Linked DNA regions of Homo sapiens: all the other regions are linked to region 1. The links are contacts of gene promoters, found by promoter capture Hi-C in blood cells and fetal thymus (Javierre and others, 2016). All regions are on one chromosome and are shown on one strand. The core of a region is centred on a gene start or on the middle of the fragment in contact, and the rest is flanking DNA. Distances in the headings are between cores, read along the strand shown. Region 1 holds the start of APOBEC2 (apolipoprotein B mRNA editing enzyme catalytic subunit 2). Region 2 holds the start of MOCS1 (molybdenum cofactor synthesis 1). Region 3 overlaps KIF6 (kinesin family member 6).

Region 1 (4,056 bases), core at 1,452-3,951:
AACTTGGGCTCTGAAGACCTGAACTCAAAGCCCGTGTGATCTTATACAAATCACTTCACCTTTCTCAGCCACAAGTCCCTAACTTGCAAAATGAGGCCCATAATTCACACCCATGTGAGACTGGTGTAAGGACTAAATGAGATAATGCATGCTTGAATGCTTGATTAATGCCCCAAATATGATAAAAGCTGGGATCCCCTGGTGAGCCAGCACCTTATTTATCTCTGTACTCTTGGTATTTACCACCGCACCTGGAACATAGGAACCTCTGATAAATGTTGACTGAACAAGAAAATGAAGTAAACTCTTTACATTTAAACGTGGTATGTTTGTGTGATAACAACATTCTTTGCAGTTTATCAGCTGCCACTGTCTTTTTATTGTGGACACAGGCACTATTATCTCTACTCAGTGCTTTATTCCCCCCGAAAAATGTTTGAAAAAATAAGATCCAGATAAAAATGCTTTCAGTGGCTGGGCGCGGTGGCTCATGCCACCCAGCATTTTGGGAGGCCAAGGCAGGCGGATCACGAGGTCAGGAGATGGAGACCATCCTGGCCACATGGTGAAACCCTGTCTCTACTAAAATTACAAAAATTAGCTGGGCCTGGTGGCACATGCCAGTAGTCCCAGCTACTTTGGAGGCTGAGGCAGGAGAATCGGTTGAACTCGGGAGGCGGAGGTTGCAGTGAGCCAAGATCGTGCCACTGCACTCCAGTCTGGTGACAGAGTGAGACTCCATCTCAAAAAATAAATAATAATAATCCTTTTAGTAGTAAATCCAAAAGGTAGGGGACCATATAATTTATTGTCCACAGCGGGACACCTTTGGGAGTAAAGGGGTGCTATTAGTAATTATGTCTGGACAACAGGAAGAAACCATGACTGGCAAACCAAAATGCTGGGCATCACACTAACAGAGCACTCTGCTGCTCAGACTCTCTGGAGGAGTGAGCCCTAAATCTTCCAAACCATCTTGACTCCTCTTCTTTAGTCAGACCCTCCAAAGGGTGCCCTACCCTCTCATCCCCACCAGCCAAACCCATTTGGAGCTGTTTTCAGATCCGTTCCCCAGTGTTCTTAGGTTCCTCATTTTCAACCTACAAGTGACCCTGACCCCTTCCTTCTGCTTCCCTGAGAATGGCCTAGAGTGTTTGCACTGCTCCAAACACGAAGACTTTTGCCTCTGCTAAGTACCCATCATGAGAGCTGCAAAAATCATCTAGCCATCCTCTGCTGCTGTTCCGGCTCAGGGTCTTTTCTATGGGCCCCCATCATCTCTCTCTGGCCTCAGTAGGCTTCTCACTGGTCCCCTGCCTCTGCTCTTCCCAAGTGCTCAGACCACCTGTCTCACCTGTTCAGAGACAATGGCTTCCCACCTCAGTCTGAGAAAAAGCAAGGTACTTATGACAGCCCATAAGGCCCCAGTCCCTTTTACCCTTGTTATCTCTCTGGCTTAATCTCTTAGAACTCTTCAGTCACCCAGATGTATGTCCTCGCTAGTTCCTCAAACACCCCAGGAATGCTCCCTTCTCAGAGCCTTTGCTCACGTTGTTCCCTTCCTTGGAACGCTTTCCTCTTAGACAACCAAATGATTAGTTCCCTTGCCTTCTTCACGTCTTCTTCAATTGTCTCCTTTTCAAAGTCCTTCACCCTGGCCATCCTATAAGTACGTAACCCCACCTCTTAGCACTTCCTGTTTCCATTTCCTGTCTTTTCTCCTTGGCACTTGTCATCACAAAATAGACCATGTATTTTACTTACCTTATTTGTTGTTCAGTTCCTCAAGCTCCACAAATCATCACAGCAGGGATTTTCATTTGCTTTGTTCTTTTGCCATATTCCCAGTACCTGAAACAGCACCTGGCATAGAGTAGATACTCAATAAATATTTGTTAAGAAGAATAAAAGACTGACTGTGAGGGCACATAGCATGGAGGTTGAATATTTGGCCTGAAGTACAAAAGCCTGCATTTTAATCCCGGCTCTGCACACTTCTGTGACTCAGTTTACCTGTAACTTGGGATAATACACATCGCCTCCCATGGCTGTGGCAAGCATGCATCTGATTTCATTTAAACCCCTAAACCCACTGCCTGGCCTGTTTCAAAATCTCTGAGCTAAGTAAATGGCAGCTATTGTTACTCAGGGAGGCTCCTGATCGATTTGACATTACATTATGGCTTTGTAACAGGCAAATCAGCACCCACCGCTTTTGAGTCATAACTCACACACTTACTCCCCAAATTGTCAGTTTTGATCCCACCTCTGCCAGGACCCCTCCTTTCCTGAACCCACGTTCCCCCAAAGCAAATGGCCTGGGTCTTTTTGCAGTCAGCCCCTTTCAACACACATCTCCTCCTGTTTAAATCTCAGAAGGCCACCCTCCTAAATCTCAGGATGCCTGCCCTGGGGCCCCTTCCACACTCTCCCCCAGTGGAGCTAGGGAATTTGGGTGGGAAACAAAGGGGAGAACATAAGGTGAGCTGAGAGGGAGAGGGAGAAGAGAGCAGGCCAAGCCATACCCACCTGCCAGGTTCCTGTCTTTGCCTACTGATAAATAGGGGATACTAATGGCCAGATTTTCCATTCCCCCACCCCAGCACCCGCTGTCACTCAATTAAAAAAAGATAGAGGGAGAGAGCCTGGGGGAGGGGCAGGAGGCCTTGGCTATAAAGCCTGTGGCTAAGTGGGGAAAGCACGAAGCCTGGCCTGCTGGGTCCTTTTCCCGTCATCCCCAGCCAGATTTAGCTGCTGACAGCTGCTTGGGACTCTGCCGCCAGGGCCTGGCCCAGACCTGCCTGCCTCTCTCCTCTCCCTCAGTGACTCCTGAGCCACAGCCCCTCCATGGCCCAGAAGGAAGAGGCTGCTGTGGCCACTGAGGCTGCCTCCCAGAATGGGGAGGATCTGGAGAACCTGGACGACCCTGAGAAGCTGAAAGAGCTGATTGAGCTGCCGCCCTTTGAGATTGTCACAGGGTAAGCCTCAGATGTGGGTCAGGGTTCTGCTCCCTAGAAGAGTGCAGCCTTGGGTTAGGCTGTGGAAATTCAGGATGGTTATATTAGGCGTCAGGGACAGCTACAACCCTGCAGCAGTGAGAGTGCACCAGTGGGCCCGGCAGGGGTGGTAGGGGACCCAGCAGCAAATTCTCTTGGCTTCTCAGGGTGACACCTTGGGCTCTCTAATCAGGGAGAGGTAGGAGGAGCTCCTTGGAGGCAAAAGCCCAGAGAATAAAACCACCCTTCAGGCCTCCTGGTATTGGGATGGCCACCTGCCTCTCTGGGTAGAAGCTTAGTCCCAGGGAGTTTGGCGAGGACAGAGGATGAGACTGGCACATCTATATGTGGCTCCGTTCAAAGCAACCCTTCCCCTCAACTTCTCTGTTCCTGAGTGGGTCTCTCCGCTAGCCATAGGCCTCTAGCCCTTTCTTTAGAGCTTCTTCCTGGAGTAGATGCTCCCAAGACAGGAAAGATAGATCCATCCTTTCCCAAGACTCAGAAGCAGCTTTTTTCTTATTAAATCTTTTGAGTCTCCTCAGGGGCTGTCCCACAGAGAAACAGAGAAATTACATGCAGATAACGCAGCCCAGGAGCTTATGGACACAGGAGCTGTTCCAACATGCTCAGGCATTGCCTGGAGGAACTGGGACCCAAAGAAAAGGGTCTACAGACTGCAAGGAGGGGGCTGTGTGCAGGGTACCTCTGTCTTATCCAGATTATGCCATCTCCAGGAATAAAACTAAGTAGTCTTCTTCCTCTTCCCTTTCTATTCCTGTAGTGGAAGACCCTTCTAAATCCTGAGCAAAGAATAAAAAGAGAATCTATGAGGCCATATTTCCTCCTTGAACCAAACGTTCCCTTCATGGGGTCTCCAGGAATGACCACAGGCAGAGTGGGTGCGAGACTAAGAGAAGTTTCAGGAAGAAAGGAGGCATGATGCTTTCAAGGGGGAAAGGAAGCCCTGAGTGGCAATTTGGACTTGATATTTCAAGCTTGACAAGTGATTTTCCAGTCAGCCACAGTTTTAGCACTTATAACATGAAGATCTATAGTAGTA
Region 2 (4,296 bases), core at 1,043-3,542, 1.1 Mb before region 1:
TCCCAAACCAGACTACCAGAGCCCTGTGTGGGCGTGTTGGGGGAGACAGACCCTGCAAGAAGGGGTTCAAGGTGTCCCCACCCCAACTGGCAAGCTCTGGAGATGAGCAGAACATATCCATTTCCAGACTCACCTCCCCTTAGAGTCTCCTCAAGACAAGTTTCTGTGCCCTCCCCCATCTTATGATGGGCTGGCCCAGTCCTCTCATTTTATAAACATGAAGCAAAGGGAAGTGACAGCCCCAGGAGCCAGGTGAAATTGGAGGCGAAACTGGCGGGTGAAAACATGGGACTCCCTGTCCAGTGTGGTCTACTATGCCACGTGACTCCTCACTAGTTAAGTTTCAAGCAGCTACAATTATTGGCTGAATCCACTGCCTGCACAACCCTGCGTTAAGCGCTTGTGGGGATAGAAAGGCGGAGGTGCACCCAGCCCTCAGGAACTCCCAGTCTGCTGAAGATAATCCTAATGAGATGTCCAGGATTCAATGTGAGTTGACAGAATAGCTATCCAACAAGTCCAGATGGGAGGGGACTCACAGGACAGAGCATGTGCCAGTGGCAGCATGGATAATAGTAATTACCACCAACATTTACATAACACAGCACTTACATGGGCTAAGCTTTGTTCTAAGTATATACGTTAACATACGTTAACTCTTTTAATCCCTGTGACATCCTATGAAGTAGACACTTTTATTCTTACTTTGCAGATGAGAAAACAGACACTGAGAGGTAAGGGGACTTGGTGAATCCCTAATAAGGGATGGGGCTGCCCCAGAGTCTATGTTCTCCTTTCTGCCACATTACCCCTCCCTTCACAGTGTAAAGGGATGGATAGGAGCAGGCTCTCTCCCTGGCCTCCACACAGGGAGGACGGAAAAGCATTAGAGTTGAGTTCCTGCCCTCTACAGCTCTGCGACTGGAGGAAAGTTAACTTAGATTAGCCCCCTCATCTGAACATACAAACTCTACTCACCTCACATGGCTTAGTGAGGACTAAATGCTTCCACATGTGAGTCACTCAACACAGGTTCTCTCATGAAAGACCAGTACAAAATAAACTAGGGGGTGGGGGGCTGGAGAAGAAAAGTCCCTTTTCTTGAATTCTTTAAAGATCTCTCAGCCATCTTTGCTTTCCTATCTCTTCCTCAATGATGTTCAGAGTTTGAGGATACTAAAAAGTCTTCACTTCCCAACCATGGGCCTGCTTATCTGAGGATCCCAGAGGGGCTTAGATTTGGGGAAAGCAAATTTGGCGGAAGTCATTGAGCAATATAGGGGAGGAGGGAGCAGTGATCTTATGAATCCCAGGACAGGAAGCCTAGTTCTGGGAGACGGGGAAAAAAACGCCTAGATAGGTACCGAAAAGAGGTTTCACTAAATGAAAAGAGGTACTTTTCCCCCCAAATTATTCCCTAACCACCTGAGCAGAAGAACAACCAAAACCTAAAACTTTTAATGACTTGAAACACTCTGAGGGGTGCTGGCAAGGACTGAGGGATCTTACCCAAAACCCTAAAGACAGAGGAATTAATTTCTCACCTGGAAGAAGCCACGTCCTGCCCTGTTCTGCTCTAGGATAAGGCTGAACCCTCCCAAGGTTAATAAAAAAGACAAGGAGAGTCAGCAAAGGATGGGTTACAGAGCCCTGGGACTACAGTAACAACTCATCGTTGGTGACACCGAGGTGACATGTTTAGTCAGTCGCACTATGAAGCAGGTGTCACAGGGACACCTGATCTCTCAGCTCTTGGGATAGGGAGGGAAAATGTTTAAGAAAGAGGGTGGGTGCAAGGCAAGGCTGAAAGGTACTAAGACACCTCACTGGACCCAAAGTCCCAGTCCTCTGCTTACCCGAATTTCTGGCCAAGCTCAGGGCTAGAAGGGGTGGCGTGGCTGGGGGGCAGGGAGGTTCTGAAGCGGGACTCCCAGGAACCTCTCCCGCTGGGCTAGCGGGTGAGACCGGGCGGTCCATCTGGAGAACATCGCTCCACTGAGGAGTGCCAACGGGTCCCTCCCAGAAGCGGTCAAGCAGATAGGCCGGGAGCTACTGGGGGAAAAGGGCAGTGTGCCGGGGCCACTCCTGCCCCGGGAAGCTGTGGACGCAGGCGGGGTGGGCTCACCTCCGAGGCAGCTCGCGCGGACTCCCCGGGGCAGGGCTGGGTCACCGGAGCCCCTGAGCTGCAGCTCCGGGCGCTGGACCTCAGAAGCCGCCGCAGCATCCGGGACAGTGGCCGCGCCGCCATGAAGCCTGATACGAGCGGAACCGCAGCCCGCTTCGGGAGCACACTGGCCGGGCACTCGCCCCCGGGGTCATCCCAGCAAGGGCGGGGAGGGGCAGGGGGAGGGCGGGACCCGCGCAGCCAATAGGCGAGGACGCAGTCCCGCGTGGCCTTGTGGGAGCTGTAGTACGCTCCCTGTGCCCACTTTCCTGGGCCGGGGTAGCGCTCTAGGGCAGAAGGGTAAACTCAGGTAAGGAACGGGGTTCTTTTCCTTCCAGTTTTTCTGGCTGCTCTAGTCTCAGATTTAGGTCGTGGTGTGACAGTAGGCAGGACAGGACAAGGGCCAAACGAATGAGGCACTGCCTTGGATGCAAAATTTAAGAGGGTGCCAGGTAAACTGCGGTTATCAAAGTAAGTAATTTTTTAATGTAATATTTCAAAAAATCGTAATAAATTTTCAGAAGTCCGTGAAATATCAACATTCTAAATAAAAAGATTTAGCCTACACTTGCATGACTCACATCACTCAGTGCACCATAGTGCAGATTGTGGTTGTAAAACGGTCAGTTAGGTCTTTCAAGATACACTTCTCCAGTTGTGCCCCAAAAGGATATTAACAATCTTTTTTTTTTTTTTTTTTTTCGTGGAGAAGGCAAGAGTATATGAGAAGTCACAGAATGAGTGGACAACATTTTTGAAATGCTTCTTATACACCAAGCACCATGCTAAATGTTATTTAAAACAATCCTGGTATGAATAGAATGTCCTTTTTGCAACTGAGGACATTGAGGCTTAGAGAGACCAGGTAATTTTCTCGAAGTCACACAGCTGATAGTGGGTTTCAAACCCAGGGCAATCTGCTTTCTACAGTCATTCAGTCAAGATTCAGTATGTGTTAGGAATGGTGGGGTGTGCCTCTTCCTCTCTATAAAAAGCAGAGTGCTGTAGTCCTTTAAGATTTTGGATAACACACACAATAATGAGCTTATGTACTAAGAATAATTATGCTCAAACCAGCCTGTTGTATCCAAAACCCTGTCCCTGTGGAATTGCAAGAATAAAACACCGGCTGGAACATACAGCTGCCAAGTGCATGCTTAGGAAGTGGGAATATAGCTCCTGATCTTGAAGAATTGACCGAATAGTGGGAGAGGAAAAAATAACTGAATATAACTGACTTTTACAAGTGCAGTGGGACTGTCAGAAAAGCTGAGATGATTTTAGCCTTAGATTCAATGTGAATTTCTCACAATGATACTCAAAATTCAGAAAATATATTGTAGGGGATGAAAGTGTATCTGGGGTGTGTTTGAAACTGATGAGACAAGTATGCCAGAGGTCTGTTTGCAAGGGGCCTGAAGACCAACTGAGGACTGTTCAAGCTCTGTCCACTGCTAAGTTTAGATATGTCTGGATTTATCAGGAAAACTGGGTATGGGGGAGAGAAGGATAAAAACTTTTTTTTTTTTTGTATGTATGAGGCTTGAAGAGCCTTCTAGAGAGGACTCAACCTCAGGGAAGAAGCCATCTGACATATGAACTTGATCCAAGAATGTCACCAGCTCCTTGGAGCCTCTCTAGATTCCACCCTCTTCATACAAGTTGTATGTGATCATCCCTTCACTTGGGCTTTACTGTCATCTTTTATAGAACTTGGGTCTCCAAGGCAAGACCTAAGGCTTACTCAGTTCTGTTTGAAGGCTGAAATCCTCTCCATATTATCATACATCTACTTGGACTCCTGTAGTGCTGGGAAACTTTCTGGCTTCCTGATGTTGTCTGGTCCACTTAAATGTTTCCCCACCTATTAAAGTTCTTACTTGTATTCAGCAAAAAAGTGCCCCTTTCTGTCAACATATGGTGATTAAGTGTCATCAGGGCCGAATCCTCTGCTAATGGCTGGGAATAAGGAAATACTTTCAAGGGCTCACAGCCTGCAGTAGGGCTCTGATGTGACAAGTCCATGGATTGATTTGGAGGGTTCTGTAGACCCCTGAACTTGAATGCATAATACTGTATTTTTTTTTCCTGGGGAATGGTGGCTTTTTGTCACATGCTCAAAGAGCCTCATG
Region 3 (4,065 bases), core at 1,271-3,770, 1.7 Mb before region 1:
TGGGTGGGGTGGGGCCTGGGAAGAAATGCTACAGAATAGGGGGGAGAGCACGCTCTGCCCCAAGACATAGCTCCTTACATGCACAGACCTCAACACAAAAGGCACCATTTCAAACTCATTCACTTTATGGGCCCCAGTTAAGTGATGAAGCTCTGTCTGTATTGGGGTTTTGATTACCGTGGGCTCCCAGAAAGGAGGGCACACTACAGATGTACCATTAAGAAAAAGCAAAATCACACCTCATGGTGTTGGGCCAGCTCTCACCACAGAGGCCACTTCCCTGTTAATAATTCCTTGGTGCTTGGGAGTTGATAAGGGACTTTAATGGAGATTATCTGGGAAAGGATCAGAGCCTGGGCAAGGGTGGAATCTGTACATGACAGACAGTGAGAGGGAGGCTTGGGGAGGTGACCTGCCCAGTGTCACGCAGAGCAGAGATGGCCTTGGAATTTCCGCCTTTTCCCTCCCAGCTCGGGGCTCTTTCTCTTTCCCTGGGAGGGTTTCTGAACACAGAAGAGAGCTGGAGGGTTTCTCTGAGTGGGGCTGGAGGGCTGGGAGAGGCAGGACCTCTTCCTAACACCTCTTGGAGAAGACAGACTTGTGGTTATGGGGGTCGCACCATGGTTCCTTTCCAGATGGGAATACTTCCAAACTCAGGGATTAAGCAAGATTAAAAACAAAAAGGCCCTCTAGAAAGGGGTTAACCTCATTTCCTCAGACATAAAAACTGTCCTTGGCAGTTGGAAACAGCAGAGTTGACTCCACGGATGACTGATGCCCCTTACGGGTGTTATATACCTGTCCACGCCTGCCCCTGGCAGGGATTTAAACATTCCATGCTGTTCCATGAATCCTAAATCAAATAGATTCATCCTGGCCCTTGGTGAAGCCTAAGAGCTGGCGAGGCTTATGTTAAATTGCCCTCTCTGGGCTCCTGCTCCTGAGCTGACAGTCACAAATTCCCCTTAATGAGCACTCCTGAAGTAACCAAGGCAGCGCTGTGAGCTAAATTAAGATTCGAGAGCCCAGGCAGGGAGAGGGAGGTGTTTGCTTTGGCTGAGAAGGTGCCTGGGCCCCGGCCTGTGTGTTTGCCTGGGTGCCCTGATAAGTGGGCTGCATATTAAGTGCCACATGGTGGGACCAGAACCATCTGCTGTATGTCTGAGAGGTCACGCCTGCTGGCCCTTTGGGACCTGGTGGCAGAGGGACCCCGTGTCAACCTGTCTTTGGCTTCCTTTGTGGCCCCGTGGTCACTGAAAAGCCAGAATGAATATTCTTCCTTTCGGAATAAAAATTGAGCTGTGGAAGTTTTGTTTGCTTTGATGAATTACTTCCAGGCTGCTGTTTATTTGGAGAGCAAAGCTCCCCAGCTGCAGGGTGGGTAGAGGCTGCGGTCACTCCCCTCGTCAATGCTGGTTCCTGTTCCTGAGGCCGAGAGAACTCCTGACAGCAGAGTGGGCATATCTTGGTAGTTGCAGCTTTTCAAGACAGTGTGGCCCAGTGGGGAGAGAGCAGAAAACCTGGGTTATGCTGGCTCTGCCATTTATCAGCTGTGTAACCTTGGGCAAGTGATACAACCTCTGTGTGCCTCAGTTTCCTTTCCTCACCTGTCCACAGGGGATCATAATCTTGGCCCTGCATGCCTTACAGGAGCGTTAAGAGCATCAAATGAAACAATAAAAATGAAAACATTTATAAATGGTAGTTTGCCATACATATTTTAATAAAAGTGCCTGCCCTTCAATCCAGCTCTCTGCACTGCCTGGGGACAGTGTTAGCAGGAGGACACCACTCTGACAGGGACCTGGACTTCCGCCTCTTCTGTTTGGAGAGAGTTAGATGATCACATCTCTTATATGTACAAAAGCTTAGTGAATGTAACTTAAAGATATTGCTTGCTTGTAGGCTTCTTGAGGGGAGGAATGATGGTTGGTTTCTATGGATTTGTTACAGGGGAAGGGATATCTCAGCTCAAAGGATATCCTGCGTATCCAAGCCTTCCTCCACTTGTGCCCCACACACTGTCCCCTCTACTTTCTCAAGGAAGTTTTTCCTGCAGCTCTGCTCCCCTCTCCCACCACAGCATCAGTTTCCCTCTCTATGCATGTTTCAGCACGTGAGCATGTCTTAAAGCATCCCTCTGGGCTCCTGCTTCCCTTTAGCTCCAGCCCAGTTCTCTGCTCCTGTCACTGCTCAACCCCCTGGAGGGGTTGTATCTGCTCACTGCCTCAGCCTCTTTCCCTTCCACCCTCTCCCCAGCCACTCCCAGTCCCCTGGCTAAATGGTGCTTGTCCATGATCACCCTGACATGCAAAATGGCCAGTGGTCCACATTCCATCCTGCCACACTCTACTGGCCCGTCTCCCCTTGGAGCTTGTGCTTCTCCAGCTTGTGCTTCTCCAGCTTGTGCCTGAGGCCATACCCACTTATCTGCTGTTCCTTTTCGCACCCTGGCAGTGCCTTCTCAGCATCTCTGCTTCCTCTCTCTCCGCAACTGTTGGAGAACCCCAGGGGGCTGTTCTCAGCAATTTGAATACCTCCATCTCTGGTCTTCAGAGGACATTGTACTCAGTCCTGTGGCTTCAGACACCAACCAGACATGATGACTTGCATATTTCTTTTTCTAGCTTAGACTTTCTCTCTGAGCTCCACTGATGCTCACCTGTCTACTCGACACCTCCTCTTGGACATCAAATGTCATCTGAAACTTCAAAAAGGGCAGCCAGAACTCTCCATCCCTCCAGCTCCTTGCCTCTGATGGTCATGCCTCCCTGCCTTTCTCATTTCAGTAAATGGCACTGCCATTCTCTTCGCTGCTCAGATCAAAAGCCCAGGAGGTGCCCTGACTCTCCTCTTTCTCTTGCATCTCATATTTGGTCTACTGGTGAGTCCAAGCCACAATCATCCCTTGCTGGCACTTTCATGGTAGCCTGGTAACTGGTCTACCCTTGGCCCCTACAATCTACACTACATGTGACAGACAAAGTGAGCTTTTTAAAGCATCAATCACATCATATCACTCCATGGTTAAAATTATTCAGTGGGCTTCCACTCTATCCAGAATAAAATCCAAATCTCTTTCCCCTGTGCATAAGGCTGGTGTGACTTGGCCCTTGTGCTCTTGCTCCCTGCCCTCCAGCCACTCTAGCTTCCTTCCCACCCTGTGGCCAAGCAAAGCTTCCCCTTCAGGCTTCTCGCTTTCCGCTCTGTCTGCTAGGACTGTGCATTCCCAGAACGCGGCGTAGCTGCTCCATTCTCATGATGCAGCTGTCAGTTTAAAGTTATCTTCTCCAGCAAGGCCTCCCCAACCTACCCAGCTAAAAGCAGTCTTCCCAGTTACTGTCTACAACATTACATAGTTTAGCTATTTCATAGCACTTATTATCCCCTCAAACAATCTTACGTATTTGTCGACGTGTTCATTGTCTGTCTCCTTCCTCCCCCTAGAATGTCAGTTTCTCACGTGCTGGGTTCTGTCTTGTTCTCTGCTGTAGCACCAGCACTAGTAGTAGTGCCTGGCATAAGAAGGCACCCAACATATACAGTGTTTGCTGACTGATTGGCTGTTCATTGCTGTTCAGTGCCTGATACCTATCATCAGAGTATTTGGGGCATAGATGGGGACTTGGAGATCACTGAATCCAGTTTTTTATTTTTTTTTATTTTTTTTTATTTTTTTTTATTTTTAGACAAGGAAACTGAGAATGAGACAAGATCACAGCAGAGGTGGGGCTGTCTCAGGCTTAAGAAAGGACCTGACAGTGTTGCTGAGGCTGCTGGTCCTGGTGGTGAAGAGAGGATAGTAAATAAGCAGGCTGGCGGCCAAGCAAGGCGAGTACAGGACCAAGGCCGGCTCTCAGTTGCGGCGCTCCATCCATGCACAAACCTCTTCCTGCCCAAACTGCACACGGCTGGTGGAGAAGCTGAGTGCAGGCGCCACAGGGCAGGCATCAGTCATTATACATCGAATCTGCCAGCCCATACCATCACGGTGGGGGCGCCTTTCTGGCAATGTGAAGGCAATGTTAAGCCTGCCTAGTAGCCTTTGGGTTATGGGGAGGAGGC

What was found. The method cuts DNA at HindIII sites, captures the fragments that hold promoters and counts their contacts. A CHiCAGO score of 5 or more calls a contact.
Region 2: a contact is called between the fragment with the promoter of MOCS1 here and the fragment with the promoter of APOBEC2 in region 1, in 1 of 17 cell types (endothelial precursors). The highest score is 5.1, in endothelial precursors.
Region 3: a contact is called between a fragment that was not itself captured here and the fragment with the promoter of APOBEC2 in region 1, in 4 of 17 cell types (total B cells, naive B cells, M1 macrophages and 1 more). The highest score is 8.2, in total B cells.

What each region holds. Positions count from the first base shown.
Region 1 is chr6:41,050,501-41,054,556 of GRCh38, forward strand. APOBEC2 (apolipoprotein B mRNA editing enzyme catalytic subunit 2) reads left to right here and starts at 2,702. Exons shown (of 3, transcript NM_006789.4): 1 at 2,702-2,978. The coding sequence starts at 2,848. The HindIII fragment of the contact is 6,727 bases long and covers 1-3,288 here.
Region 2 is chr6:39,932,170-39,936,465 of GRCh38, forward strand. MOCS1 (molybdenum cofactor synthesis 1) reads right to left here and starts at 2,293. Exons shown (of 11, transcript NM_001358530.2): 1 at 2,126-2,293. The coding sequence starts at 2,248. LOC102723789 (a long non-coding RNA gene) reads left to right here and starts at 2,400. Exons shown (of 6, transcript XR_001744112.1): 1 at 2,400-2,474. The HindIII fragment of the contact is 5,632 bases long and covers 621-4,296 here.
Region 3 is chr6:39,338,950-39,343,014 of GRCh38, forward strand. All of the region lies in intron 22 of KIF6 (kinesin family member 6), which reads right to left. LOC105375047 (a long non-coding RNA gene) reads left to right here. Exons shown (of 3, transcript XR_926774.3): 3 at 3,690-3,752. Among named protein-coding and RNA genes, the nearest start is that of KCNK16, 18 kb to the left of the region's middle. RefSeq lists an enhancer at 570-1,071. The HindIII fragment of the contact is 1,310 bases long and covers 1,866-3,175 here.